5 separate regions of the Homo sapiens genome follow, and regions 2, 3, 4 and 5 are each linked to region 1. Evidence: promoter capture Hi-C in 16 types of primary human blood cells and fetal thymus (Javierre and others, 2016). All regions are on one chromosome and are shown on one strand. The core of a region is centred on a gene start or on the middle of the fragment in contact, and the rest is flanking DNA. Distances in the headings are between cores, read along the strand shown. Region 1 holds the start of AGAP3 (ArfGAP with GTPase domain, ankyrin repeat and PH domain 3). Region 2 holds the start of ZNF282 (zinc finger protein 282). Region 3 has its middle 3.5 kb from the start of TRC-GCA9-4. Region 4 has its middle 21 kb from the start of ZNF467. Region 5 overlaps ZNF862 (zinc finger protein 862).

Region 1 (4,903 bases), core at 1,563-4,062:
TTTTGGGGGTTGTGCTACCCCCTAGAGGTTTGGGCGGCAGCAGCGTCCGCCCCCTCCCCTGCCAACAGCCAGGGCATCTATCACACCAGACACCGACGTCAGCTGGAGCACGTCAGAGTACCCGTGTTCGTGATGCAGTGTGGAAGGCTCTGAGGAACTCAGGTGGCCCCTACTGTTATGTCAGAGTGGACGCCAGAAGGCACTTTGGCCACCAAAATTAATTCTTCAGCCCAGAGCCCAATATCCATGGGCTGCCCCACCAGGCTGGCTAGGGATACCCATCCTCAGGGCTGCCCCTTTCCTTGGTCCCCTCCTCCACCTTCGGGACTCCACAGCCCCTTCAGGGCTGTGGAAGAAGCATAGACCTTGGAACCTGGCAGAAATCCTGATCCCTTATCTTGTGCTTCTCAGCTATATGACCTTGGGTGGGTTATTGAATCTCTCTGAACATTAATTTCTTCCTCTCTAAAACACACCTCGTAAGTCAATCATAAGGAAGAAATTAGATGTTTTATTAAAAAGTGTAAAAACTAAGGTACATGTCACACAGTAGCTATTCGCTCACCTCCACCCAAACCTGGTCTCAGGAGTCGGGTCTTTGGTGTGTTACTGTGTGGATGGCATTGAATCCCAGGCCTGTGGATATCTGGATTTTTCCCTCTGGGCTCCTGTAGCCACAGAGATCTCACATCCTGGTTTTTACAGGCCAGTCTTGATTTAAAATAATCTATCCTAGTCTTCCCATGGTTCTTGCCTACTGTGGGAGCAAGTGGCCCAAATATTGCCTTAGGAATGTCAGTCTAGATTGATACCATACAGAACTAACCTACCTCTAGTTCCATCCCTCCTGTTCATTCATTTATTCTACTAACATATTTTTTAAAAGATGTACTATGGCCAGGCGCAGTGGCTCACGCCTGTAATCCTGGCACTTTGGGAGCCAAGGCAGGCGGATCACTGAGTTCGAGACCAGCCTGGCCAACATGGTAAAACCCTGTCTCTACAAAAAAAAATACAAAAATTAGCTGGGCGTGGTGGCGGGCGCCTGTAATCCCAGCTACTCGGGAGGCTGAGGCAGGAGAATCATTTGAATGCGGGAGGTGGAGGTTGCAGTGAGCTGAGATCGAGTCACTGCACTCCAGCCTGGGTGACAGAGTGAGACTCCGTCTCAAAAAAAATTACACACACACACACACACACACACACACACACACACACACACACTATATCCCAGGCATTGTGCAAGATACTGGGAATAAAATGGTGAATCAGACCCTCTTCCTGCCCTCATGTGGCTCCATATACTAGTAGAAGAGCTAGACGTGTGAACAGCCCAACAGTGCTATAACACGTGTGTGCTAGTTGCTGGGGCAACACATTTGAGGAGCTCTTTGCTCTTAGTGTCTCTCTTGGGAGGTATACCTGGTGCTACTTCCTGCTGTCAATTCTAATTAAGCACCTAAAAGAGATGTTGGATGTTACTTTTAGAATTATACAACATCAGAACTAGGTTTTATGTTCAACCACTATATTTCGCAGATGAAACCCAGAGAGGGCACAAGATATCCTTAAGCTTATGCAGGGAGATAGAAACACAGGTTCCTCAGGAGCTTAGGAGACCCTGTGTGTTGATTAGCTTGCACCAGGTGCTTTGGAAGGTACAAGGAACTCGGGAATAGTGACTGGGTTGGTTCTGGGGCTGAGTTGTGTGGGTAATCAAACAGTGGACAGCTTCATGCTGGGAAAAGATCCAGCTTGGCCAGGGAAGTGGAAGTGTGCGTAAGAAGGACGATGTGTGTCACTGATGCCCTAGGATATCTGGGGGTAGCAGATACCCTGCAACATCTCTGGCAGATTTATTGGCTGCGGCCTCTGCAAATGTCACCTCTTGTAGGTTTTAGGAAACGTGTGTGTGTTGGTGGGGGGGAGGGGGCTAACAGAACTGCAGCCCACTTTGGCAATGGGACTGCAGAGGAACTGGGACATTTCAGGGAGCTCCCTGGCCCTAGAGGGAGTGAAAGGACAGGATGGACAAGGGGTGAGGACAAGAAAAATTGAGAGCCACGTGGGCTTTGGTTGGTCTCTCCAATGGGATGAGTAGGGGAGAAAGGCATATACTATTTCATCCCTCCCTCTTCTTCCTCTATGTACCAATGGGGTCGGGTAGCATTTAGCTAATCTCCCAAGTCCGGCAGGGGGAGGGTCTTTTAGGAGAGCACTGCTGCAGCCGGCAGTGGAGAGCCTGGGCAGGGAGACAGGGAGAAAACTCCGGCAGCAGGGTGGTCTCTAGGGCTGACCTCGGAGCCTGGGGACAGGGGAGCCTATGCCGCACTGAAGGCGGGACGCTGTAAGCGAGGAGCAGCTGGGCCTGGGCGGACTCCTCGGCCAATCAGCCTCGGTCAGCAGCACCCTCAGGCGCAGGGCACTGTTTGGGCATTGCCTAGAGATCCGACACCCCGCCCAGATCAGCGCAGGGAGGCGAAAGCGACAGCCGGGCGCGGGAGGAGACCAGGGCAGCTGTCCCCTCCGCGAGGGTGGCCCTCGAGGCAATGCGGGTGGGGGCTGGTGAGGAGGCGGAAGGGCCGAGGCTGAGTGGGAGGGGCCGGGGCGCCAGGGCTGGAGCGCGCGGCTCGGGGGTGGAGGCTGCAGAGCCAGCGAGCGAGCGAGGGGCGGGGGCGCCCGGGCCGGCGCGCAGGAGGGGCGGGGGCGGCGGGGAGGGGGGCTCGGGCTGCGTGTGCCGGAGCCGGCGGGGGCGGCGGTGCGTGCGCATGACGCGGGGGGAGGGCCTGGGCCGCGCGCTCCCGGTCCCGTTGTTGTTGCCGCTGGAGGCTGCTCCGAGGCAGCGGGATCACGGCGCTGGGAAGCGCTCGGCAGCGGCGGCCACAGCGTGCGCGGCGGCGCCTCCTGGCCTCGGCCTCCGGCCCCCGGCCCCCGGCTCCATGCGCTAGCCCCGCGCCGCCAGCCCAGTAGTCCCGGCCCCGCCAGCCCCGCGCTCCCGCTCGCCGCTGCCGCCGCCGCCGCCGCCGCCGCCTCCGCCGCGCCGCCCCGGGCCCGCCTCGGGCCCCACGGCTCCGAAGCCATGAACTTCCAGGCGGGCGGGGGGCAGAGCCCGCAGCAGCAGCAGAGCCTGGCGGCTCCGGGGGGCGGCGGCGCTGCCGCGCAGCAGCTCGTCTGCGGCGGGCAGTTCGGCGGCGCGGGGCCCGGGGCCGGGGGCGGCGGCGGCCCCTCGCAGCAGCTGGCCGGCGGGCCCCCCCAGCAGTTCGCGCTCTCCAACTCCGCGGCCATCCGGGCCGAGATCCAGCGCTTCGAGTCCGTGCATCCCAATATCTACGCCATCTACGACCTGATCGAGCGCATCGAGGATTTGGCGCTGCAGAACCAGATCCGGGAGCACGTCATCTCCATCGAGGGTGAGCGGAGCCGGGGGCTGCGGGAGCCGGGGCGCAGTGGCCTCTCCGGCGCCGGCCGAGGGCTCCACAGGCCGTGCCTGGCCATGCTCTCCCTGTCGGGGGTCCTTGCGCGCTTGAGGACCAGGCCACGAGGTTTGCCGATCTGTGTTGCAGAACCGGCGGGCAGCTTCGCCATATCTCGTTCGGGGACACTTTGGGGTTGGGGGTTTTCTGCTGACTGTGTTCCAGGGCGCGAAGGTGGTGTCGCTTGGGGGGGCCGGGACCAGATCTGTCCAGGCCTGGCCGGGGAAGGTGGGCGCGGCAGAGGGCTTCAGCTGCGGGGAGGTGGGGTCGTGACCGGGGAGGCTTCTTAGCCGCTGCCCGGGCCCTGCTCCGCAGTGGGGCGGGGGATCGGAGCCTCGCGTTAGTGGATGGCAGCCTTCCCGGGCCCAGCGCCCGCAGGCCCGGAGGGTGGCGCTCGCCGCGGCGCCCTCTCCCGACGCACACCCCCTACGCCGCGGCGGCCAAGCGGGAGCGGGCCGGGCCTGGCGCTGGGCTGAGGCTCAGCGACCGCGTGGGAGGCGCCGGCAGGTCCATCCGCGCTTTGGCCGGGTCATGAGCCTGACGGGGATCCGCGGCTCCTCGGTCTGGAGGCAGCTGCTGGGCAGCCGGGTGCTGACCGACCGCCAGGGACACCGCACCCGGAGTCGGGGACCGGAAACCCCCGGCCACTGCGCTGCCTAGCGCTTTTTTCTCTGGGCCCTTAGGCCCTGGACTTTCGACCGCTGAGGGCACAGGAAGTGGTGGCACGCTGCTGGCAGATGCCTCGCAAGCCCTGGTGTGGTGGGTGCTGGAGGCACCCGCAGGCACCCCGGTGGCATGGTGACCTTCGAGCGGGCACGGACAGATGGGCCTCACCCTGGGCCATCTGCTTCCTCCCCCAGCTCTGTTTGAAAGGGGACGCCCACCGGCAGGTGGTGGGTTTGGCCTCAGTGGAAATGCAGTGAGAGCCAAGGCCTTTTGCGATAACATGGAGTTATGGGCAGGGGCCTGTCCCTGACTTGGGCCTTAAGGTTAGGGCCCCACTCCCAGCTTCATCTGCTTGCCTGAGGTTCTGGGGGATAGTGCACCTGAACACCTCCCTTTCTGCTTTCAGAGGTCCCCATAGCCGGGGAAGAAGTACTGGGTCTGGGGGGACCCCATGTGGTGCTGGGTTCTATCTTTTGTTGTGACATGCCAGTCTGACTTCCTTCTGCCTTTTCCCAACCCGTTCTTATTTCTTTCCTCTCAAGGCTGAGTTCTCTGTGAACTAATTAGGTGACAGAAAAAACTCATTAACGTGGATCTGAGTAAATGGCCTGAATCACCGCTGTGGCTGGGGACTAGGAGATGGCATTTGTGCGAGCCCTGGGCCCCAAAGACAGGAGATGACCAATTTTTCCTCTTAGATCTGAAGAGGGTGGAGGCGGGAGAGACATCGTTGCTGCAGCTTCACTGTCCTTGGAGGAAGTAAA
Region 2 (4,903 bases), core at 1,615-4,114, 1.9 Mb before region 1:
CATATTGGCCAGGCTGGTCTCAAACTCTTGACCTCATGATTTGCCCGCCTCGGCTTCCCAAAGTACTGGGATCATCTTAACAATGAATGGGACCTCTAGCTCTGAGCAACTACTCTGGTCACAAAGGGTGATAGTGTTGATGGCTGCATGAAAATCCACCCGCTGTGAAGGAGAAATGTGAAGTAGACACACTACAGCGATGTCTTACTATGTAACAAAGGACATCGTTATAACTAGTTAAGTGCTTAGGAAGGGAAGTCATTTTAAAGGCTTTATACAGAAAAGATAGCATAAATGTTTGGGACTAACCTAGTCCTTCCTTTATCACCTCTAGGAAAGAGAAAAGATAGTTGATAATCTACAGTGCAGAAGACGTGTTCTGAAATGTGGCTCGCTGGTGGAAATGAATTTGCCTAGAGCTTTTCAGACTTAACTTGCCTGGTTCCTCTAATAAAAGTGGACGTGATGTTTACAATCAGGGCCAGGAAGCAGGGAAGGAAATCACTGACTTCTGGGAGCATGGACTTTACTGGCCTATAAGCTCCTTGAGGATAATCTTAAGTCTGTGAATACTCATTTCTGTATCCTAGAAGTGTGCCTAGCAGAGAAAGTACTTGGTAACTGTTCTTCTGAATATGGCCTTCTAAGCACATGTCTCACGTAGGCCAATAATGTCCTTTATTTTATGAAGTGCAGTGGAACTTAAAGGTACTAGCAGGTCTGCTTCCACACAAGGTGATGAGCCTCAGAGATCTCTTCCTTAACAAGACAGGGACTGGTCCTTTAGGAAAACAAAGTAAATACTATTTTGAGAATAATTACAAAAACACCTTTTGGGGGTAACTATCTTTGCAGAATGCTCGCTATGTGCCAGGCACAATTCTCATTTAATTTTACAACATTAAAATAGAGTTGCCATTATTTTCTTCATTTATATATGAAGAGAATGAGGCTCAGAGAAGTTAAATAAGTTGCTCAAAGTCATAGCTAGTGAGTGGTGATTTTGGGATTTAAACTCAGGTGTATGCAACTGCAAAGCTCACCCTCTTCCTAAACAGTACCTGGCACACAGTAGGTGTTCAATAAATACATTTGGAATGACTGAATTTTCCCCTCCTCCATCTTCATCAGCTTATACTGGCCTCTCCCTGGCTCCTCCTCTGACCTGGCCTGATGTTTCAAAGTGACACTGACCTGCCTTTAAAGGGTTTTATTTGTAGAGAAGGGATCTCGCTGTGTCACCCAGGCTGGTCTTGAACTCCTGGCCTCAGCCTTGGCCTCCAAAGTGTTGGGATTACAGGTGTGAGCCACCATGACTGCCCGATTTAAAGGTTTATTTATTTATTTATTTGACACAGGATCTTTGCTATGCCGCCCAAGCTGGAGCACAACGGCACAATCACAGCTCACTGCAACCTCCAACTCCTGAGTTCAAGCAATCCTACAGCCTTAGCCTCCTGAGTAACTAGGAGTACAGGCATTAGCCATCATGCCCGGGTAATTTTTATTTTTTATTTTATTATTATTATTATTATTTTTTTTTGAGACGGAGTCTTGCTCTGTTGCCCAGGCTAGAGTGCAGTGGCGCGATCTCGGCTCACTGCAAGCTCCGCCTCCCGGGTTCACGCCATTCTCCTGCCTCAGCCTCCCGAGTAGCTGGGACTACAGGCGCCGCCACCACACCCGGCTAATTTTTTTGTATTTTTAGTAGAGACGGGGTTTCACCGTGTTAGCCAGGATGGTCTCGATCTCCTGACCTCGTGATCCGCCCGTCTTGGCCTCCCAAAGTGCTGGGATTACAGGCGTGAGCCACGGCGCCCGGCCTTATTATTATTTTTTGAGATGGAGTCTCGCTCTGTTGCCCAGGCTGGAGCGCACTGGCGCGATCTTGGCTCACTGCAACCTCCGCTTCGGAGGTTGAAGCGATTCTCCTGCCTCAGCCTCCCGAGTAGCTAGGATTATAGGCCCACGCCACCACGCCCGGCTAATCTTTTTGTATTTTTAGTAGAGACGGGGTTTCACCATGTTGGCCAGGCTGGTCTCGAACTCCTGACCTCAGGTGATCCGCCTGCCTCAGCCTCCCAATGTGCTGGGATTACAGATGTGAGCCACCGCGCTCGGCTAATTTTTATTTTTTATAGGGATGGGGTGTCAATATGTTGCTCAGTCTGGTCTCGAACTCCTGGGCTCAAGTCGTTCTCCTGCTTCAGCCTCTCAGAGTGCTGAGATTACAGGTGTGAGGCACCACGCCCAACCCAATTTCAAGGTGTTTGAAGAGGCCACTGTTAAAATGCACTGCACCTTACCTGGGAGAAAGAGCTCAGCCCTCTTTTGACACCTTAACATGAATCACTTCTCTATCATCCATAACAGTGCAAAAGCTCTGGGATGGGTCCAGGTAAATCTGGATTGGGAAGAAGGGGAGTGGGAGGTAAAGTCTGCAAAGGAGTGAGGGAAGGCAGAAGGCCAGAAGAAAGTGTCTGAAGACAGAATTACTCCTGCAAAATTTTCACAAGGGTCAGGCACTATTTTCTCCCGGGATGCCCAATACATTTGCAGAATTAACAGTAATCAAGCCCACAGTCCAGGTCCTCGCATAGTTTGGGCCTTTAAAGTCGGCCATCCCAGATTGAGGGGGCCTGACCCCTGGGCGAGGCCGCCGCCTCTCAGTTTTGGGGCGGTGGCGACCCCAGTCCGGGAGTGGCCCCGGTAGGTCCCCGCAGGCGGGCAGGAGCTCCGAGGCCATTGGCTGGCGCGCGGGCTGCCAAGGGGCGGGGAGCGCCGCCGAAGGGGACTGTTTGCTCCTACGGGCTGTAGATGGAGCTGTCCGGCCCCGGAGAGGGGGAAGGCGCCTGGAAAACGTTCTTCTTCTCCCTGGCCGACCCGAGCGGGGAACAGCACTCCCAGGATGCAGTTTGTGTCAACACGGCCGCAGCCTCAGCAGCTGGGCATCCAGGGCCTGGGGCTGGACAGCGGGAGCTGGAGCTGGGCCCAGGCTCTGCCCCCGGAGGAGGTCTGCCACCAGGAGCCGGCGCTGCGCGGGGAAATGGCCGAGGGAATGCCGCCCATGCAGGTGGGAGAACCCCGCCGGCGCCATGGCCGCGCTGCCGTGGGGGCGGGGCGCGGGCTGGGCCGCGGGACCGGGCCGCGCCGTCCTCCGGTAGCCTTGCGGCGCCCTCCCAGCTTCCGCGCCCAGGCGAGGCCCGAGGCGGGCGGGGCACGGCCGGGCTGCGCGGCGGGCAGGACGGAGCGGGCCCGACGCAGGCCCGGAAGGGCAGGCCTGGCCCGCGCGGCGCGGAGCAGCGGTCGCCGGGCCCAAGTGCGGAGGCCCCGCGGGGCGGGGGCCGGGACCGTCCTTTCCGGGACCTGGCAGAGCTCTGACCCTGTGGCTGAGCCCCGGCTTGGGGCTCCCTTTGCGCCCGGCCGGCGGAGAGCTTCGCGGGCAGTGCTTCCGCCCGGCCGCAGAAGTGAATGCCTCGTTCGTGTTTACACGGTGGCCAATTTGACGGGGATATTTTTTAAATGTTTGATTACCACCTTTCACCAAGTGTAATGAGTAATTCACTCTCCCCCTGCACCGGGTGTGATCCAGGGAGGGGGCCATGGAGAGATGACTTCGGGGTCTTTCCTGCGGTTGACAAACTTGGCCGCATGTTGGAATGGCCTGGGCAGCTTTTAAGACTCCTGAGCCCTTGCCTGGTCCCAGAGCTCAGGGTCTCTGACGGGTGAGAGTAGCACCAGGCATTTCTTCAGGCTCCATCGATGATCTCCGTGGGCAGAACCGGTGCTCCAGAATTGGGTATAAAACCAGGGGAGGTGGATCCTCAGAGAGGCCTGAAAGCTTGCCCAGGGAAGACTCTCTGGGCCCACCCTGGGGCTGGGCTGCTCAGGGGCCCCTCTGCTCACCACGCGGCTCTCAGCCAGGTGCTAACGAGGGAGCCAGGGGCTGCTGTGTTGTGTTTGATCATTTTCAGGGTTAGGGCTTCAAACCCGAGAAAACTAAACTGGGCCCCGGGACTTTCTTAACTTCTACTGTGGACTCTGTCCCCTTCTGTGGGCTAGGGCGGAGTGGAGCCTCTGTGATGGAGGAATGGGTGCTTTTGATGGAAACACCAGCACCTCTTACTGGTATTACAGGGCCTGGCGATCCTAGGGCCCTGCTCTCCACTCTGCTGTGTCCCGGAGCAGGTCTGCCCCGGAGCAGGGCTGCTCTTGAGTCAGAGAGTGGGGCTGGTCTGCCCAGATCGCCCCAAGCAGCAGGCCTCCCCTTTTCCTAGCCTGAGGGCCTTTTCTGCAGCCATCGGGAGGACAGAAAATGACACCTCTTCCTGTCCCAGGTGTGAAGGAGAGTCGGCTGCCAGCCCATGTGGTCCAGTGAGCCCTGAGTCTGACACCAGGTCCCAGATGACCAGTGAACTGTCACCAGCCTCAACCAGCCCCCCTTAGCCATAGGTCTCAGCTCTCAATTGCACCAATTAGTTTACCCTTCTGGGGTGAGGGCTCTGTGCTGGAAGATAAAAGGGGGAGTCCCCAGGCCATGGGGCACCCCTTCCCCAGGAAGCAAGGAGGGGTCCCAGAGGAGTTTTTCTTTCTCTTGGTCCTCTTGGGTGTGAGGGACATCCCCTCTTCACCTCTAATGAGTGACCTTTTTTAGTGAACCTATTTTCAATTTGGAAAATGTTTATGAAACAGTAGTTGTATATGGGGGGAAGCTGCTTTTCTGCCCTAGCTTGGGCTCTCCGGTCTTTTCCTTGACTGCAGCCCTGGTAGGAATGTGGTGGGTTTTTTTGTTGTTTATTTGTTTGTTCCGAGACGGAGTCTTGCTCTGTTGCCCAGGCTGGAGTGCAGTGGCACCATCTCGGCTCACTGCAACCTCCGCTTCCCAGGTTCAAGCGATTCTCCT
Region 3 (4,903 bases), core at 1,773-4,272, 1.4 Mb before region 1:
GCCAAGGTGCTTCAGTTTTCACAGCCATTTGGGTACAGGAGATTTGGCCTAAGACCTGAGTCTCCCTTCTCTTGTACCAAGTCAAACTCTTAGAGAGCCATAATATTAGTAAAAGCATAGGAAAAAAAAAAAAAGCATCCACTAGCATAAGAACACAAGACATCTTTCTCTTCCTAGGGAGGCAGAGGGCATCACCCCTGAGAATCCATAACCATACATCTATCCTCACACTTGTTATGGCTTTGAATTTACACCACCTACATGGTTCAGAAATTCCTCAACCTGAAAGTTAACATACAAAGTACTCAGGCTAACAATGATTCTAGAGTATCCCCTGGTGGCTCACACCTGTAATCCCAGGACTTCGGGAGGCTGAGGTGGGTGGATCACCTGAGGTCAGAAGTTCAAGACTAGCCTGGTCAACATGGTGAAACCCCGTCTCTACTAAATATAGAAAAATTAGCCAGGTGTGGTGGCGGGCGCCTGTAATCCCAGCTACTCAGGAGGCTGAGGCAGGAGAATCGCTTGAACCCGGGAGGCGGAGGTTGCAGTGAGCCGAGATTGCGCCATTGTGCTCCAGCCCGGGCAACAAGAGTGAAACTTCGTCTCAAAAAAAAAAAAAGTACTCAGGCTGACAATGATTCTAGAGTATCCAAAAGAAGCAAACACAAACCATGAAGGACATACCCTCAAGCCAGGCTGCACAGGATTCCTACTGATAAAGCCTGGCTTAAGACGGCCTCACAATTCAAAGTAATAAAATATACAAGGAACCAGCCTATTATGAGTGAGAGCCACCAAACAAAATAAAGTCATAAAGTCAGGCCATAGAGTTACCAGATAGATACTATAAAGTAAGGATACTTAAAAATCTTTAAGACATGAGGAATTGAAAGCGTGGACACCTATGCTTTTTTTTTTTAAAGATAAAGCAGATACATCTAAAACGAAAAGTGCAGTCACTAAAATTGATCATTTAATTAACAGATTAAACACACATTAGACAAAACTAAAGAGAGATTTAGGAATGAAAGAATGTAAATCTTTTAAAAATCACTAAGAATGAAGCACAAAGGCCTAAAAAAATGAAAAATATCTAGCTAAAAGAGATGGTGCAGAATAAAGGGGTCCAACAAAGGTCAAATACAAATTCCACAAGAAGAAAGTGTAATGGGGAAGAGGCAATATTTATTTTATTATTATTTATTTATTTTTTGAGACAGAGTCTCGCTCTGTTGCCCAGGCTGGAGTGCAGTGGCGTGATCTCAGCTCACTGCAACCTCTGCTTCCTGGGTTCAAGCAACTCTCCTGCCTCAGCCTCCTGAGAAGCTGGGATTACAGGTGTGTGTCACCATGCCTGGCTAATTTTTTGTATTTCAGTAGAAGCAGGGTTTCACCATATTAGCCAGGCTGGTCTCAAACTCCTGACCTCAGATGATCTGCCCACTGTGGCCTCCCAAAGTGCTGGGATTACAGGCGGGAGACACCACACCTGGCCTAAATTTTTTTTTTTTTTAGACGGAGTCTCTGTTGCCCAGGCTGTCGTGCAGTGACACGATCTCAGCTCACTGCAAGCTCCGCCTCCTGGGTTCATGCCATTCTCCTGCCTCAGCCTCCTGAGTAGCTGGGACTACAGGCACCCACCACCACACCCAGCTAATTTTTAAAATTTTGTATTTTTAGTAGAGACGGGGTTTCACCATGTTGGCCAGGCTGGTCTCGAACTCCTCACCTCGTGATCCACTTGCCTCGGCCTCCCAAAGTGCTGGGATTCCAGGTATGAGCCACCATGCCCAGCTTGGGAAGAGGCAATATTAAAAGATATAATAGCTGAGAATTTTCCAGACTTGTACAAAGATGTGACACCTCAGATTTAGGACTCACGAGTTCCAAGAAAGATAAATAAAAGATCCATACCTAGCCACATTGCAGTGAAACTTCATGATACCACAGATAAAGAGATTTTTTTTTTTTTTTAGATGGAGTTTTGCTCTTGTTGCCCAGGCTAGAGTGCAATGGTACGATCTCTGCTCACTGCAACCTCTGCCTCCTGGATTCAAGTGATTCTCCTGCCTTAGCCTCCGAGTAGCTGGTATTACAAGCATGCACCACCATGCCTGGCTAATTTTTTTTGTATTTTTAGTAGAGTCGGGGTTTCTCCAGGTTGGTCAGGCTGGTCTCAAACTCCTGACCTCAGGTGATCCTCCCGCTTCAGCCTCCCAAAATGCTGGGATTACAGGTGTGAGCCACCATGCCCGGCCAAACAGATGATTTTAAATGAAGCCAGAGAAGTTAAATCATATGCAAAGGAATAATTAGACTGACAGCAGACTTTTCAATAGCAACAATGAAAGTCAGGAGACAATGGAATAAAATATTAGAAGTGTGAAACAGTTCTCTCCCTGGCTAAAGTATCATTCAGGAGTGAGAAAAATGTAAGACATTTTATATAACTGAAAGTATCCACTTCTAAAATATCCTTGCTGAAATAAATTTTAAAAGTTCTGCTTCAGGAAGAACATTGAACCCAGAAGGAAGAAGAAAGAGGCAAGAAAAAAGAGTGAACAAAGATAGTGGTAAGCACATTGGTAAATCTAAACAGCATAGATTGTATAAAACAAAAACAATGACTTCAAATATCAGGAGAGAGTCTTAAAAACAAGATGTAACTAAAAAGAACAATAATTACACACAAGACAGAAGGGGAAGAGTGTGATTAAACTCATATTCAAAAAGCTTTCTATCATTTGCGAGAAGATCAGAAGTAGTAATATTAGATTCTATTAAACCAAATATGTGTGTAAAATTACAGAGTAACCCCCAAATGAATAAAAAAGGAAAGCATAACTTTCAAATCAGTAGATTCATGATTATGATAGAGATTGTCAGACTGGATTCAGCAGCAACAACAAAATCTAGCTACATGCTCTTATATGACACACATCTGAAACATAAATATACACAAAGTTTGAAAGTAAAAGGACAGGAAAAGATATATCAAAGAAATACTTGCCAAAATAAAGTTAGTGTAGCTGCAGCAATATCAAACAAAATGGATTATAGACAAAGACTATTATTAGGGATAGTGTTACTTTCTAATAATAGAATGAACAATTCTCCAGGAAAATACTACAATTCTAAATTTGTAAGCACACAGCCTCCAAACACATGAAGCGAAAATTCTCACAAATTCAGGGAGAAATTGACAAATGCACAAACTTGATATGAGATTTTAACACCTCTTTAGTAACTGATAGTTCCAAATGCAAAAAGATGATAAACTATAGAAGGCATAAACCACATGATTGATAAGCTTGATTTTACAGCTCTAACTAGATCCTACACCAATATTAGAATATATGTACTCTTTTAGGCAAACATGGAACATTTTCAAACATCTATTGCACACTTGGCCACAAAGCAGTCTCAGAAAATTCTAAAAAATCAACATCACTTACTACATTCTCTGACTATAAGGCAAAACTCAAAAACAAAATAACTCATAAAAAGATTCGTATTTGGAAATTAAAAAGTACTTTTAAATAATCTCATGGATGGAAAAAGAAATAATAATGAAAATCAGAAAATATTTTAAAGTTGCAGCCATTTTCACATGGAGGACTGGCCAGCACAATTTGCCTTTAGATTCATTTGGGAAAAGTGCCGACTAGTTCACCAAAAGTCAATTCACAGAATGACCAGATAGCCAAAAGCCAAATATGGTAAAAGCTAAACCACTGAATATCAACTTGCTAAACAACCAATCTGAATTATTGAAATTTTTTTTTTTTTTTTTTGAGACAGGGTCTTGCTCTGTCACCCAGGCTGGAGTGCTGTGGTGTGATCTTGGCTCACTGCAACCCCCCTCTGCCTCCTGGGCTCAAGAGATTCTCCCACCTCAGCCTTCCAAGCAGCTGGGACTACAGGGGTACACCACTGCACCTGGCTAATTTTTGCATTTTTTGTAGAGATGGGGTTTCATCATGTTGCCTAGGCTGGTTTGGAACTCCCAGGCCCAAGCAATTCACCAGCCTTGGCCTCCCAAAGTGCTGGGATTACAGGTGTGAGCCACCGTGCCTGGCCCCAGCCAAGGAATTTTTAAAGATGTGTTTCAGCTCCACTCCTGCCTTTGTCTGTGTCCAGAGCCATCCAATAAACCTGGTTCAGGACAGGTCTTCACAACTATTTTTTAACGCACACACACGGGCTGAGGTAAATACAGGTCTACAGGGTCAAAGGCGCAACTAAAATTTGGGGGATAGGGGTGCCAGGAAGTGTCTCCATAATTTAAATAATTGGCCATGCAGCAAATTTCATGTTGGTGAACTGCTTTTAGCGACTGATGGTCCACAAATGGGGCAGGAAGCCTAGCCAGGAAGTGGACGTTTGAGTCAAAGAGGTGCCAAGAATCTGCACAGCTTAAAACAAAGGTGCATCTTACTTGGATAGAGATTTCTTTCTACAGGTGTTTAAGTTTAAGGCAGGGGTCCCCAGTCCCTGGGCTATGGACCAGTACCAGTCCTGGCCTGTTAGGAGCTGGGCAGTGCAGCAGGAGGTGAGCTGCGGGCAAGCCAGGGAAAGCTTTATCTGTAGTTACAGCCACTCCCCCTTGCTCGCATTACCCCTGAGCTCTGCCTCCTGTCAGATCTGCAGGTGCTGGATTCTCATAGGAGCCAGAACCCTGTTGTGAATGCGGGATCCAGGTTGCGGGCTCCTTAGGAGAATCTAATGCCTGGTGATCTGAGTTGGAACAGTTTCATCCCAAAACAACCCCCCTCCCAGTCCATGCAAAAATTCCCTTCCACAAAACCGGGCTCTGGCCCAAAAGGTTGGGGACCCCTGATTTAGGGGGTTTTAACGTTTAGGGATCCCGGGCCGGAGGGTGGGCGGTGGAGAGGAGCTG
Region 4 (4,903 bases), core at 1,050-3,549, 1.3 Mb before region 1:
TGGTGCTAGACTTTTTAGTAACTGAAAATGAGACTATTCTAACTTCCAAGATATATTAGGATCCACCAAACATATGGTCCAGGAGTGGGTGTGACCAGAACTTCTCCTGCCCCTGTACACTCACTACCGTGCCATGGGTCTTGGCTGCTGTTCCCACCAAAGACGGTTTTCCCACCTCTTAAACCTTGGGGGGCTTTGTAACTTGATTTGATCAAGAGAATATGGCTGAAGTGACACTGTGTGAGTGCTGCAGCCATGGCTTCAGGAAGCCCTTACAGATTCTGCACCAGCCCCCTTGGAATACAGAGCTGGCATGTCGGAGGCCCGGGTCAGCCTCCTGGAGGAGGAGAGAGAGGCCTAGCCAATAGCTAGCACCAACCACTGGATATGAGAATAGGACCATTTTGGACCACCCAGATCCAGTTGGGCCACAAGAGCCACAAGGTAACTGTACCTGCAAGGAGGAACCCAGGTGAGACCAGCCAAAAACCACTCTGCTGAACCCAGTCCAAACTGCTAACCCACAGAACTGTAAGCAAATAAAAGGTTGTTTTAAGTGGCTCAATTTCGGAGTGATTTGTTACACACAATAAAAAAGTGATATAGCGAAGAAGGCAGATACAACAGAATGGGTTTGAATGCGACGATGAAAGAAGAAAATAAAGTTGTTTCTTGCCACTTCCCAAGTCCAGCTCATTTAATTTACAAGCAATATTTGCAAAAGGCAGATCCGGGCAGCGATGTGAGATTTTTCCCCTGGGTATTCTCAAGTGCCTAAATACCTACTTGGTTTAAAATAGATAATTCTCAGCTGGGCACAGTGGCTCAGGCCTGTAATCTGAGCACTTTGGGAGGCCAAGGCAGACAGATCACTTGAGGTCAAGAGGTTGAGACCAGCCTGACCAACATGGTAAAATCCTGTCTCTACTAAAAATACAGAAAAAAAAAATTAGCCAAGCGTGGTGGCAGGTGCCTGTAATCCCAGCTACCCAGGAGGCTGAGGCAGGAGAATCACTTGAATCCAAGAGGCAGAGGCTGCAGTGAGCCAAGATCGTGCCACTGTGCTCCAGCTTGGGCGACAGAGTGAGACTCTGTCTCAAAAAAAAAAAAAACAAAACAACATAGATAATTCTTATCTCTGGACTCTCCCCTTGTCCCACTCTGCAATGTTTCCCTTCGGACATCTCCTCACAGAGCTGTGGAAAGCTCAGAAGGCCCCTCTCTGAAGCCTGACTGCTGGTCACCAGCATTGGCCCTCAGAAGGCTGCTGCCAATCAGGGCTGAGGAGAAGCCGTGACCTTCACTGGGAATAGAAGTGGGGGCGAGGGGTGAGCAAGCTCTGCTTTCTTTCCTGAAACAGCAAAATGAGACAAGTGTGTGCACGCTGTGCTGCTGCAGCTGCGAAATGAAAAGCTTCTCATTAGCATCCTTTGCACAGGGGTAGGGGTGGGGGATAACTCAGGGACAGCTCTCAGAGTGCAGAGCTGGGGCTTCTGTTCCCAACCCAGGCCCCCGGCAGGCCCCCTAGGTGTGTCATCTGCCTCCAGCCCAGCTAGGCAAGTGTGCTTCCATCTGGGTTGGGGAGAGGGATGGGTGGAAGTCTCCTGTGGGGTAATTGTGAGTCCTGATCTGGTCCCAGAATGTGAGCCCACCTTAGTTGTGGGACCCTGGGACCTCCACCCTCCCCAGCCCGCTGAGCAGGGAGGGGCATGCAGAGCTGGGTGGAGGGGAAGCAGGTTCCTCTGGCCACACAGGCTCTTCCTGTGCCAGGGGCAGCCCAGGCACAAGATGACAAGGAGAACCGGAAACTAGCCAGCAGGGCCTGCCCTGCAAAATCATGGATTTCCTCTTTCCCTCCCTCCCACCCTTCAGGCCCCAGCAGAACCTCTCTCCTCCAGGCCTCCGTTCTGTCATGCAGGATGAGAGCAGAGGTTCTTAAACCAGCTCTGCGGACCATGTGGGCCCACAGAGGGGCTTAAAGAGGGTGTCCACATACCCTCTAAAATTACGTGCAAATCATTGTTTCTATGCACATTACTCTGAAGGGAGCTTTAAACAACTAAATGCTTGGTGGTTTGCTAAAGGTTAGGAACCGACAGCCTAGAAAATTCTCAGGCCTCTCCAACACTGACATTCCTGCTTTCCCCTTTCTGTCTGCTTTCCTGAGTGTGGTTCTCAGCTCTCTTCTTAGTTCAGGTAGCTCTCTTCTCATCTAATACATATACTTTGCAGTAACGGCCAACGAAGGTGGTATATTACAGTGAGGCTTTAAATGGGACATGCAGAGTATGTGAAACATACCAGATATCTAACTCACATAATTGCATTTGAGCAGTAAGTTTAGCTTTAACCATCTCAGCAGCCACATGAAAAAATAGATCGCTGAATTTATTAACTTTGGGATTTGTGTTTGCTGTCACCCTGTCTTAGTTCACAGCTATAACTCTGCAGGGGTGGATTTTAGGCACTCAGATTATCCGGTAGGGGAGGGATTTTGAGATGGGTAGGCCTTGTAAAGGCTCCTCTTCCACCTGTACAATTCAACATACGTGTTGTGAGTGTTCAAATGTGCCAGGTCCTGGAAATACCAAGACAAAAAAACACGACTTCCGCCCTCGAGATGTTCCCAGTGGGCCTGGAGAGATGAGGCTCCTACAAGGGTGTAACCTTTCTAAACCCCGGTTTCCTTACCTGAGAAGTGAGGACAGCAACCCCGTACCAAAGGGGGCTTAGGGGAATTAAGTAGGAGCCTCAGTCACAGGAGGCACTCACACATTTTAGGCACACGCGGACACACCCAACAACTGCAGGCGACATCTGGTAAGGTGGGAAGCAGAGGAACCATGACAGCTTAAAGGAGGAGATTGTTGTGTGCTGGGATCATTGGGGAAGGACACCCCCAGGAGGTGGCCCCCATCTGTGCTCGAAAAATAGGTAGGATTTAAAAGGGAAGTCAGGGCAGTAGGCACTTTGTGATGGGGAAGCCCAGGGAGGCCGGGGCAGGAGGCAGGAAGGACCACACGGCCCGGAGACAGGAACAAGACCGCTTGGTGTAAGGGAGGGTGTGTACCCAGGAGGTTTGGAAAATAAGTTTCAAAAGTTTGTTGGGGCCAACTGTAGAGAGCCTTGAGTTAGAACAGACATGTATTGCACACTGGCTAGGTGGGCACTCTGCTCTGTGCCAGGGAAGCTTGCCACCCCCAGAGGGACACACAGAATAATGTGGCACAATGTGTCAACCGCTAAGGCCTCTGGATATTCAGATGAGCAGAAGTTTCTAAGCTGGGGCGTAATAAGTTATAAGGAAGATCAGCCTGACAGTTGGAGGATAGATGGGGAAGCAGGAGTTGGGGAGAAGTCAGAGGGGGACCTGATAGGAGAAGGTTGCCCACTGGCCTGGGCTTGGGGGGACAGTACTGGGAGGGTCAGGGGCAGCAGGGGCAGCAGGGCAGGCATCTGCAAAGGATGAGCGTGCTATGACGCGAGCTCCATCATTCTGGAGAAAGAGGATCCTGAGGCCTTAGGAGTTCTCCTGGAAGCCCCACAGTGAAATCTCAAGAGAGAAAATCCCAGCGAGGACAGGGACACTGGGCCCACGGGAATCCTGTCTTGCTGGGCCGGAGGGGAGCCCTGGGTCTGGCTCCTGTAGAGCCTGAAATAGAATCCGATTTGCGATGCCCCTAATGATGTTATGTAATGACATTGCATAAGCCCGTTACGTAAATCAAAGTCCTGCTATTGACCAAGAATGTCCCCTGCCCCAAGGCTGACCTAATCCCACGCCTGAAGGCTCAGTCCTTTGTGGCAGTTGGATAAATCTGTTTCCTAAAGCCTCTGTGAAACCCTCCCGACCTTAAAGTCTCTGTCTTTAGGGTTCCTGGGGCCTCCTTCTCCGTTGCTGCTTCTCCACTGTGGGAGGCCTCAGTGTGACACTCACTCATCCTTCCCCAGGTGAGGGTTCCCAGGGAAGGACAGGATTCCAGTCCTTCCACCAGCGTGGAATTGTGGCCGTGCGCCCTCTTCTGGGGGTCTTGCATACTCCCTCTGACTGTGAAATACAAGACTTGTCTCTGGTTAAAAGACATTTCAAGGATCAGTAAGTGAGTGAAGAAGTTTTCTTCCCTGTGGGGCATGGGTGGCCTCCCCAGGACCCTGGAGTTAACAACTACGAGCAGGTTCTTGAGTCCCAGGAGCAGAAAGAATCTTTCACTACTGGAAACCAGCATGTCCCGTGAACGCACTCACCAACCTGTCTGCCTTCAGTCGGCCCATCTGTCTCCCTGAACATACTAGCAGAAGCCCTCCCACCCTCAACCCACCTCGCCAACCCCCACCCCGGCTCCCCTTCAAGCCCTCTCCCCAGCATAGGCAACATCTTCCTCGGGAGGCTGTCTCCTTCCTTCATCTATGTCTCTCTACAAGTAAATCCTGGTGTGCACACCACCACCCCCGACACATAAACACAGTTTACAGAAACACCAAACAAAACAGTCATGTTTGATGGAAAAAGGCTGAGTTCCCAGTTGCTCTTAGTGTCTCCTAAAAGTCAACTGTTTACTGTCCTATCAAAGCTATTTTACTGTTATAGGACTAGGAAAAATTTAAATTTAAAAATCACACGAAGAATAAAGTAACACAAAGCAAAACTGTTTATGTTTTATCTTTTTTTTTTTTTTTTTCAGACAAGTTCTTGCTCTGTCACCCGGGCTGGAGTGCAGTGATACAATCTTGGTTTACTGTAACCTCAAACTCCTGGGCTCAAGGCATCCTCCTACCTCAGCCTCTTGAGTCACTAGGACTACAGGCCTGCTACCATGCCTGGGTAATTAAATTTTTTTTTTTTTTTAGAAATGGAGTCTCCCTATGTTGCCCAGGCTGGTCTTGAACTCTTGGCCTCAAGTGA
Region 5 (4,903 bases), core at 2,404-4,903, 1.2 Mb before region 1:
CTCATTTTTCCAAAATCCAGAAAAACAGCATAGCTCATTTCTTTTCCTGTTCCTGATATTTTTTAGTATTAGAAGCTAATGAACCGATGTAACCTTTTATCATCTGAATTCAGCAGTGAGGCGTGTGTAAACCAGTCACTGGTCATAAGCATCTTTAGCTTTTTTGACCACCTCTTTGTTCCCATCCCATTGGGAAATCTTAGGTGCTCCTAGAGGCACACAGTCACCTTTTAGTTGTAGGTGACCAGGAGGCAGCTCTCAGGACTCTGAGGACAGCATGCAGTGAGAGGCTCTGCCCAGCTGCCTGTTCTTTCCACACGCTTTCATTTCCGCCCAGGAGATCCTAGGATCTGACCAAGTCTCACTTGGCTTTTACCTACTAATTCTGGCCTCCTGAATTTGATTCTTTGACTTTCAGTGGATAAATTAATTCCTCTGAGTGCATCTGGGCCTCTTGGTGAGCTTCCCAGGAGAAATAGGGCTTCCAAAGGCCCCAGAAGTGTCACGTGGGAGTCTGGCTCGGCAGGCGGTGCTGAGTGGCCGCTGCTCTTTGTTCCAGGACCCTTCTGCAGAGGGGCTGTCGGAGGAGGTTCCTGTGGTGTTTGAGGAGCTGCCGGTGGTGTTCGAGGATGTGGCAGTGTATTTCACCCGGGAGGAGTGGGGCATGCTAGACAAGCGGCAGAAGGAGCTGTACAGAGACGTGATGCGGATGAACTACGAGCTGTTGGCATCCTTGGGTAAAGACGCACCGAGCCTCTTATTCACCACCCTCCTTTGACTTGGGAAGCCCACAAGGGGAGCTGTGGCTTGTGGTTATCTTCCCATTCCTGCCCCCTCCCTGTGTGTAGGCAGAGACCGATCCTGTCTTTTGCACCTCATAACTCCCCTGCTTGGGGTAACTGTGCTTTATCACCTTCTCATCCACCCACCTGTTCATCCATTCGTCCCCCACCAAACATTTTGGAGTACCTACTATGTGCCAGATGAACACAGCTGATCCATGGTCTCTGCTTTCAAGGGCCTAGCACGTTTGTGGGAGAGACAGACATTTTAATAAGAAACTATAAAATAATACAGTCTCCCATAAAAGAGCTTCCAGAAGAGTACCCGGGGCTACTGAAGAAGAGGGATTTGATTTCCTGGGCATTGGTGGGAGGAATCAGGAAGCCTTTATAGAGTAGGAAATGTTTTAATTGAGTTCAAAACCAGGTGGATCAGAAGGAGGAAGGGCATTGAGCCATGATGGAGGGGACGGCCTGGCAGAGCCACCCCTATCTGTGCAGCCCAGGGCTAAGGCTCCTGCATCCTGGCCAGGCGCCGGCAAGGGTTGGCAGCCTTCAGCACGGGAGTCATGGGGTTTGGACCTTGGCAGATTAGGAAGAGGGCAGTGCTTCTTGCTCCTCAGGATGGTGCTCTCCTCTCCTGCATCTGCTGTTTTATCTTCTCTTTGCCTCTTTCTGGCAGATTAGCAAGGTTCTTATGAAGCATCAAGATGGAAAGACAACTTTTTTTGTTGGAGACAGTCTCACTCTGTCGCCCAAGCTGGAGTGCAGTGGCGTGATCTTGGTTCACTGCAACCTCTGCCTCCCAGGCTAATTTTTGTTTTTTGAGTAGAGACGGGGTTTCACCATGTTGGCCAGGCTGGTGTCGAACTCCTGACCTCAGGTGATCCACCTGCCTTGGCCTCTCAAAGTGCTAGGATTACAGGTATGAGCCAGCACACCTGGCCAACATGTTTTTGTCATTGTTCGTAATTTTTAAATGGCTTCCCAAACATTCAGAAGTGACTAAAATTATTTATTTTGTGGTGACAGAGGTTTTGTTGTCATGCCCTAGGTTAGGTGTATCCCCTCAGAGTATCACTGCCCGTGCTGTGCTGAAGAGCAGTGAGAGTGAGGGCGAAATTCACACCTGTCTTAAAAATGCATACCCTCTGCAAAAAGTTGGGTTTTCCTTTAATGTAATCGGCACTAGCGACTCAGTTTCACTGTGAGGCCCCCGGGCGATTGTGAAGGTACCAGGCGATGGTGTTGCTGGCCCAGGGCAGCTTCTGCAGCAGTGCAGGGAGGGCTGGCCAGGATTGTTTAGCCTGTGCCTGTTTCCTCACGTTTTGTGTGTTGACAGAGCATGATCTAAACATTTTATCAGTTTCTTTTTCATTTACGTAAATTAGGCAGTAGGGAAATCTCAGCTAACTAAGGTCTTTAAATTTTATTTGGATGAACAAAAAATGTAATCAGAGGGAAGGGAACTCATTTTCCTCGAGGGTCAGAGGCAGGAATCAGAAAGGCTTTCTAGGGGGTGGGCCTGGCCTCTCCGGTTGTCTGTGAAATTGAGACAGGTATGGGAGTCTAGAAACGGAGTTGCATGTGTGTGATTCCTTTCAGTTACTTTAATTGGATCTCTGGTTATCCTTGAACTATCCCCGAATTTAAACAGTTCTTCATGTTTGAGATATAGAAGCATCTTAAGGAGCCTGGGGACTATGGGCAGGGCCTGGCATAAGCTATTTGTATGTTTAAAAGTGGTATATAATAGTATTAAATTGGGATATAAAGTAGTGTTAAAACATAGTGGAGATTCTTTAATTGTTATTATTATTTTTACTTTGGCTTGTTTTTTTTTTTATTTCCCACACTTTACCCTCCATAACAAATGCTCTAAGAGTTGAAAACCAAATATTATTTTGCATTATCTTTTAATACACAAAACAACTTCTTGGGGTGAACTCAGTTTTGTGTGTGTGTGTGTGTGTGTGTGTGTGTGTGTGTGAGAGAGAGAGAGAGAGACAGGCTGTCACTCTGTCACCCAGGCTGGAGTGCAGTGGTGCCATCATAGCTCACTGTAACCTTGAACTCCTGGGCTCAAGCAATCCTCCTGCCTTAGCCTCCCAAGTAGCTGGGACTACAGGCGCATGCCACAACACCTGGCTAATGTTTAAATTTTTTTGTAGAGATGGAGTCTCACTTTGCTGCCCAGGCTGGTCTCAAACTGCTGGACTCAAGTGATCCTGCTGACTTAGCCCCCAAAGTGTTGGATTACGGCGTGAGCCACTGCACCTGGCTTGCCATATCTGATGAAGTCTGTTGCTTCTTCCCAAAAAGCAGCCAGAAATCTCAATTACATCCCACTGTTAAGAAACTAATATTTGTCATTAATGGAAATAGACAGGCCAACATAGGGACTATGTGGGTAGCCCTTGCTTTTATTTGTAAAGGTGTCATCGTATGCTGAGTGGCCACTCACTGCAGGCGGGCAGTTTCTTGTCCACAGGAGAAGTCGGTAACTACAGCCAGGCCTTACAGAGCTGGGGGAAGGCGTTGTGTCACTCATGGAAAACAACACTGAGTGGGAGGGCCCTAAAGAAGATGAGCAGGGGAGTTCGAGTCCCCCAGCTTCTCCACGGCAGGACATGTGATGATGGCCTCCAAGTGGGGGCAGCCGGAGCTAGAGAAAGAAGAACCAAGGTGAGGGGCTAGAGTGGCATCTATTTATTTGTTTGTTTGAGATGGGGTCTCTCTATATTGCCCAGTCAGGACTGAAACTCCCGGGCCCAGGCGATCCTCCTGCCTCCATCTCCGGAGTATCTGGGATTACAGGCACACGCACTGCACCTGGCTAGAGTGGCTTTTGCAGAATGGATTCATGGGATAGGGCCTGCTGGCCCTTGGTGAAGTTAGCCTGGAAGGATGAGGAGTCCTTTGTAGGCCAAACCATTGTTATGGACTGTTATGGAATGTGGGTGTTTGTGGGTGTGTGCACGCACTCGCCACAGTTATGTGCCCTCCTTCTTTTTCCATTACTAAGTCATAGAAAACGCTGAAAATTCCCCTCCATTTCATTTGTTTGGAAGGGAACAAAAAGAAGAGGTTTTGATAAGATGTAGGCTGCAGCTTCAGAGAGGTACCATCAGGGTACGGTATTCCTGGGGCCAGGGTAGTGGCGCCAGCGGCAGTCAAAGGTGGACAGTACCCAAAAGGAATATAAATGGAGGCAAACAGATTTGGGAACATTTGGTCCCTGTTTGTTTTCAATTATTCTTTAAAAATATTTCTGCCGGGTGCGGTGGCTCACGCCTGTAATCCCAGCACTTTGGGAGACTGAGGCAGGTGGATCACCTGAGGTCGGGAGTTCGAGACCAGCCTGGCCAACATGGCGAGACCCCATCTCTACTAAAAATACAAAAATTAGCCGAGCGTAGTGGCACACACCCTTAGTTCCAGCTACTCGGGAGGCTGAGGCAGGAGAATCGCTTGAACCTGGGAGGTGGAGGTTGCAGTGAGCCAAGATCGTGCCACTGTACTCCAGCCTGGGCGACAGAGCCAGACTCCATCTCAAAAAAAAAAAAAAAAGAAAAATGACAGTCCCCTGTCCCACCTTTCTCTTTTACAAAGTCCTGTTCCCCAGAATCTTGTAGCTGTTTCTTCCAGTAATTTGCCGCATTATTTCTAAATAACGTATGTGGACATTATCTTAGGAGGGACGGACTCCAGCAGGACGCGCTTATAAAACAATTGCATCCTCCCGTTCACCGCTGAGCGTGTCAGCTCTGGGGGCCTTTTCTTTCTCACCCTCTGGGTTAAATCTAGGCAGGGCCTGGAACTTTTTCTTATCACACTCAAATAACATGAAATCTTCCTGTTCTAATTTCAGTGAGTGCAATGCCTGGTACAAAACTCTTCAAAAGTGTCCCGATCAAAAAAAAGACAGAGAAAGGCTGGCAAACTACCTCAATTAAAGGAGACTGAAGAGGTGTGACAACTTGAGTGCATGATGCTAGGACAGATGCTGGGCTATAGAGACATTTTGGGGACAAGTGAAGAAATTTAGTATGAACTTAGATTAGATAATAGTATGATATCAGGGTTGAGTTTCCTGGTTTTGATCATTATAACTCTGGTTA

Evidence for each region. Contacts are between HindIII fragments. The CHiCAGO score rates a contact against its expected background, and 5 or more counts as called.
Region 2: a contact is called between the fragment with the promoter of ZNF282 here and the fragment with the promoter of AGAP3 in region 1, in 1 of 17 cell types (neutrophils). The highest score is 5.7, in neutrophils.
Region 3: a fragment that was not itself captured here is called in contact with the fragment with the promoter of AGAP3 in region 1 in 1 of 17 cell types (non-activated CD4 T cells); the score reaches 6.1 in non-activated CD4 T cells.
Region 4: a contact is called between a fragment that was not itself captured here and the fragment with the promoter of AGAP3 in region 1, in 1 of 17 cell types (neutrophils). The highest score is 8.7, in neutrophils.
Region 5: a contact is called between a fragment that was not itself captured here and the fragment with the promoter of AGAP3 in region 1, in 1 of 17 cell types (non-activated CD4 T cells). The highest score is 5.0, in non-activated CD4 T cells.

What each region holds. Positions count from the first base shown.
Region 1 is chr7:151,083,663-151,088,565 of GRCh38, forward strand. It overlaps AGAP3 (ArfGAP with GTPase domain, ankyrin repeat and PH domain 3), which reads left to right and starts at 2,813. Exons shown (of 18, transcript NM_031946.7): 1 at 2,813-3,410. The coding sequence starts at 3,080. RefSeq lists silencers at 2,533-2,782, 2,833-2,922, 3,289-3,358, 3,719-3,988 and an enhancer at 4,209-4,368. The HindIII fragment of the contact is 3,352 bases long and covers 1,572-4,903 here.
Region 2 is chr7:149,192,682-149,197,584 of GRCh38, forward strand. It overlaps ZNF282 (zinc finger protein 282), which reads left to right and starts at 2,865. Exons shown (of 8, transcript NM_003575.4): 1 at 2,865-3,073. The coding sequence starts at 2,909. RefSeq lists silencers at 2,533-2,822, 2,641-2,962, 3,083-3,442 and an enhancer at 3,883-3,932. The HindIII fragment of the contact is 5,667 bases long and covers 1-3,839 here.
Region 3 is chr7:149,708,675-149,713,577 of GRCh38, forward strand. No RefSeq gene overlaps it. Among named protein-coding and RNA genes, the nearest start is that of TRC-GCA9-4, 3.5 kb to the left of the region's middle. RefSeq lists a silencer at 4,804-4,903. The HindIII fragment of the contact is 577 bases long and covers 2,735-3,311 here.
Region 4 is chr7:149,749,829-149,754,731 of GRCh38, forward strand. No RefSeq gene overlaps it. Among named protein-coding and RNA genes, the nearest start is that of ZNF467, 21 kb to the right of the region's middle. The HindIII fragment of the contact is 1,777 bases long and covers 1,412-3,188 here.
Region 5 is chr7:149,849,602-149,854,504 of GRCh38, forward strand. It overlaps ZNF862 (zinc finger protein 862), which reads left to right. Exons shown (of 8, transcript NM_001099220.3): 5 at 560-737. Among named protein-coding and RNA genes, the nearest start is that of ZNF862, 14 kb to the left of the region's middle. The HindIII fragment of the contact is 7,594 bases long and covers 1-4,903 here.